2 separate regions of the Homo sapiens genome follow, and region 2 is linked to region 1. The links are contacts of gene promoters, found by promoter capture Hi-C in blood cells and fetal thymus (Javierre and others, 2016). All regions are on one chromosome and are shown on one strand. Each heading gives the region's core, a stretch centred on a gene start or on the middle of the fragment in contact. The rest is flanking DNA. Distances are from core to core; before and after follow the strand shown.

Evidence for each region. The method cuts DNA at HindIII sites, captures the fragments that hold promoters and counts their contacts. A CHiCAGO score of 5 or more calls a contact.
Region 2: a fragment that was not itself captured here is called in contact with the fragment with the promoter of PCDH9-AS3 in region 1 in 1 of 17 cell types (total B cells); the score reaches 5.7 in total B cells.

What each region holds. Positions count from the first base shown.
Region 1 is chr13:66,976,000-66,978,699 of GRCh38, forward strand. It overlaps PCDH9-AS3 (PCDH9 antisense RNA 3), which reads left to right and starts at 1,390. Exons shown (of 3, transcript NR_046636.1): 1 at 1,390-1,532; 2 at 2,374-2,472. All of the region lies in intron 2 of PCDH9 (protocadherin 9), which reads right to left. The HindIII fragment of the contact is 7,912 bases long and covers 1-2,700 here.
Region 2 is chr13:66,690,029-66,692,728 of GRCh38, forward strand. The region is part of intron 3 of PCDH9 (protocadherin 9); the gene reads right to left. Among named protein-coding and RNA genes, the nearest start is that of PCDH9-AS2, 130 kb to the right of the region's middle. The HindIII fragment of the contact is 1,605 bases long and covers 472-2,076 here.

The DNA.
Region 1 (2,700 bases), core at 140-2,639:
AAGAAAGGATAAGAAGGTGAAATTGGTAGAGAAAAATAGGGCCTTCAAGAAAATATTTCTGTTGAAAGATAGGGCATGTACAAAGTAAGACAGGAGACGGTCCCTCTGTCCTTTGAGGAAAAAAATACACAAAGTGTCTGCTGCCTACTGTCTCATCCAATCCATCTAACTGATATTCTTCAATTCTAAAATCCCCTCATTGGCAAACTACTTTTCAGTTGCATGCAGTTATTTATTTATTTTAGTTTTAAATATTGGAGGAAAAATATTGATTATTCATTTTAAGTAATTAATAGAAATGTATAGAAGATATGGTAGTAGTCTATGTAAAGTAGTCAATCTAAAGAACACATAAACTGGAGATGTATTTAAAGTTATACTGGGCAACTTTCATATGGGTATGGTTTGAGGATTATCTGAGCCCTTTGGGTGAAACTCATTTTCTCTATGGAATCTTTCAGTACCTGAATTTTTTCCAGTAAAATAACTCTTTGAGTTTCAAATGACTTTTCATAAATAAACTGTAGATCACCCTCCATAAGACACATGTCTTATTACCATACATACAATATTTTACTGGGAGTAGCAATTCCATAAACCCAACAAGGCTCAAGACCAATATGAACAACAGAAGTCAATACTTAGGCAAGGCAGGTAGAGCTAGGATCAGAACAAGCGCCTTTAGGTGGAAGTCAGGGTAGATGGGAAAAACAGATACAAACTGTAATTTGTCATTTGTATGACCTGTATCTAGTCCAGGATATTACACTTTATCTGTAATCAAGTAAGAAAAATAAGGATAAATCTGATGTTTGGGAAAGTGCAGAGAGTTTATTTTACCTTTGTTTTTATCCATAGGACCACCTTTATTATCATTTTTTCATTGTATAATTCCTGAGGGTAAAGATAAAATCATAAAATCAGGCTTCTGAAATTTGAAACTAATTTTAGATTTTTGTTTTCCATTTAAACACTAATGTTGAAAAGCAGACCACTGCTCTGCACCCCAGTGATCCAAAGACTTAGTCTGTCATCTTTAAATGCTTTTCCTTACTTACCAGAGACCTTTAATAGGTTTGGGTTGGGTCATTTTATTTCTCATTCTGTTAATAGATTATCTTTATACTTCTCCCTCTGTGATAATTAATAAATAATATTTTGCTCTTTTTGAATGGTACACCTTTATATGTTTAGAATATATACCATCTATATGCTTGACATTTGGGGGATCTCGTCTAATTTTCAAAGGAAGAAGAAAAATCTGGCTTGCAGGGTGTTTAGAGTACGGTGATGACAGCCTTTATGCCAATTTCACAAGCATTGCAGCCTGAATCATAGGCTGTACTATAAACGGCAGCATATGGCTGGAGAGTCATAGCAGCAGGATAACGTGGTAGTGCCCAGATCACAGCTGTAGGCACATAAAGAAAGTTTTGATGCTGGTATCCATATCCCTCCTTCTCATCAACAACAAAAAGGATGACTACTTAAGATTCTGTTGTCTTAAAGGCTTTATTAAGTTATTGCCCAAGGTAGGAAAGGGATATTATTGTCTACATATGTTTGCCAGAATCATGCAGCTTCTCTATTCTGGCTTTCCGAGCAGGTGTCTCTTTAAGTACTTATTCTAAATGGAACACAACTGGGCGACATCAGAAAGGGCACTGTTGACAACTGTCATAGCAGGTTCCAGCTTGAATGGTAACTGAGCAGAAGGTATCTCTCCAGAGTACTTCAGATCATCCTAAAAGCAGCATCATTTCCACCAGGAACCCAGCTTCTACCAGAAAAGAGTGCTGGGAAATGGTGCTTCTGGTAAAATCTGATCTCCTCAGTGGAAATGCTCTATCCCACCAGATTTCGCATAGAAAATAGCTACAAGGCAATTAAAGGAATGCCGATTTTAAAGGCAAAAATATAATGTTTAGAGGAAGCACATAATGCAGACAGATGTTAATAATGTTAAGTGAAAATTTGCTAAATATTTTTTCATACCTGTTGTATCCCTTAAAACACTTTAAAGCCCTTTCGTAAGTGAAAAGAAACACTAAAATGTTCAATTGTTTAATTAGACATATAAAAGATTAATTTACCAGATAAGAGAAATGATGTTTTCAAGGTATAGTTTCAGGTTATTGATAGTTTGTTATTGTCTTGCATTTTAATTCTTGTTAGTTTGGAGTTTTGTTGTTGTTGCTGTTATTGTTGCTGTCACTGACCATAAGAAAATGGGAGAATTATGTTCAGATGCTGAAATTCAGGAGCCAATTTAAATGATAATTTTCAGATAGATCTTGTAAGGTATTTAGGGTAAAGTAACTCTGCAAACCAAATACAAAAAAAAAACAAACACTGATTTTTCTCCTTGCTTAGGATTATCCATCTGCAAAATAAAAGCAATTGCAATTTCTGCATGACTGCAAGAAAAATAGATACTATTCCTTAGTATGCTATTTTACAAGTTTCTTAAAGGTACCTATTGTGCAGATATATGTGATTAAAAAGTAAAATTTATTATGAGACATTCACATATGCTCCTATTTTAGTTTTTCTACATAGACTACAAAATATAATTATTCAGACTTCTTTTGTAGAAGTATGTGAATTATAGATCAGAGATTTATGTAAGGATTTATATATGGATTGCTTCTTTTCTTAGTTTATGCTACTATCTTCTATAAGAATATATATATTATATAT
Region 2 (2,700 bases), core at 24-2,523, 290 kb before region 1:
GACCACATTAAACCTACATAAATAAAAGCAAAGACATATGCCAGTAAAAGTGCACATAAATAAACCATGCAATAAGAAACAACTGCACAGAAATAAGCATTATGTATTATTCTCTTCTAAATAAACACAGTGCACTAAGTTATTTAACTTCTAGTATTTAAACAATACTTTTTTGATGGAGTAATGCAGTTTTTTTTGCATTTAAATAGTTCATCATCACGATATAGCAGGTAGGTGACATAAGTTCCTTAAGAAAATCTAAGTATGATATAGGCAAATATAGAATTGTCTAATTTTAAAGTTAGAAAAAAACTTCGAGGTAATCCTGACAAGGATTGATAGATTTTAAGTCTGAAGACTTCAGTGATGATTCAATTGTTCTTCAAACAAATACAAATGTAACCTATACAAAAGGTTACATTTGCTTGATATTAGGGTTAAAGAATCATAAGCCATCTTCTGCTCTCAAGAAGCTTACAGTGAAGGTGTGTAACAGACACACTACAAGGTTTAGTACAGAATAAAAAAAGGCTATGAAAACAGAGGGAAAGGCTCTAACCATAGCACACGTGGTATGTCAGAAAAGGCAATTTTAAAAGTCACTTAAACTGAAGTTTTAAGATCACCAAAGGAAATCATCATTTTACAGAAGTGGAACCTGAGTTGGCAAAGTAGTCCAGAGGATAGATGTCAAAATCAGGGTCAGAAATAAGTTTCCTGGTTTTATTCCCTGAATTCTTTCCACAGGAAAACATATTTCTAGGTGAAATATATATTAGTCTCTACTGAGAATGGAATTAAAGAGTCCCTGTGAATAATCTAACTACATGCTAGAATGCAAGCAAGACCTCTGTCCTCAACCACATCTCATGAACTGCCAGCAGTGTCACCAGCGTAAGCCTGAGACATATTGCACTAAAGTTTTAAATTATGTTAATATCCCCTTAAGTTTTAAATAATGTATTTTACCTAAACGTAAATCATTTTATTTTGTAAATTTTATTTATTTATTTATTTTATTTATTTTGAGATGGAGTCTCACCCTGTAGCACTGGCCAGAGTGCAGTGGCACCATCTTGACTCACTGAAACCTCTGCCACCCAGGTTCAAGCGATCCTCCCACTCAGCCTCCCAAGCAGCTGGAATTACAGGCTCCTGCCACCATGCCTAGCTAATTTTTGTATTTTTTAGTAGAAATGGTGTTTCACCATGTTGGTCAGGCTGGTCTCGAATTCCTGACCTCAAGTGATCCTCCTGCCTTGAACTCCCAAAGTGCTGAAATTACAGTCATGAGCCACCGCACCCGGCCAACATAAACATAAATCATTTTAAAGTGCTATGTACTTCCATTGACATAGTTAGAATAGCAGAATACTGAATTTCTTTTGTTATGGAGTACTTAAAGTATGCTAATAAACAACATCTAGTCCAATGTATTGTCAAAATATCTACTGTCTTTTGTTTCAATGATGTAAGATTGGACACAGTTAAATTTAAAAATACTTGATTTTTTTACTATTATTTTAACTTTTAATGTGATAAGCAATAGAAAAAAAATAAACATAGATGCCTTTGCCTCTGAAAATTATTATAATACCTGTCCTGATATCTCAGAAGAAAAATAAACTTAATCATTATAATCACCATTGAGAAAATGAACCCACGTATTTTTTACCTATTGAAATTGAGCTCTTTAGAAGAAAACAAGAACAAGATAAAGAATACATGCCTTATATTTGTAAAACTGTATTGAATACCAAAAATATTACATTGTGTTTACAAATTTCATATTATAGTCGTAATATTTGAAATCATGGTCAGTGCCTTTATTTCTTATCTCCAAAGACATGCTTATTATATATTGGAGTCCTTTGAAAATACTACTACCTACTTAAGCCTGGGCAATATCTGTTACACATGGAAAATAAATTTTTAGAAATCCACCATTATTCATCCAAATCTCTGGCTAGGTCATTTTGAGCTATGAGGCATTGTGCTTCTGTATCCTATTTACAACTTTACACATGGTGTATAAATCAGTTGCAAGTAGACTAGATGAGGAACATGCTATAACAAAGCTTCTTTGATATTAGCCTCTACATGGCATGAAGAAATTTTGTCAGTCTTCAATTTACCTCCATGTTATGAATTTGAAAGAGACATCCATTAACCTGGAAGAAAATTAAAATCTATAGCTTTATCATCAATGTAAGTCATGTTGAAATATTAGAGGGCAAATATTTCCATGATCACAATATATACATTATTGAAAAATAAAAAAAGCATTCCTTTACCCTGTTGGACTGAAGCATCATATTTGGTTTTGAAGACCTTTGCATAATTTAGTGTTCTTCATCTACAATAAGACACTCGAAAGGAAGTCTTGAGATGAAATAATATAATTATGTTCACTCTACAGCTATCGATTAAAGTTCACATGGTAGGAATGAATAAAAGAAAATAATGTTCTGAAATATTATTTTTGTTCTTAAGATATTTAATTACAATTCCAATGGAGCCAATGGATTTGAGAAGATAAGTACAAACCCATATTAAGCCATAGCCATCCACTTAATTGAATTCACTTAAGCTGCTTCTAGTTAGGATACTATATAATATTTTACTCAAATACTCTTAATTATGGTATAACAACATAACTTAAATATTGTAGGTATTACAATTATATTTAGATTACTTTTA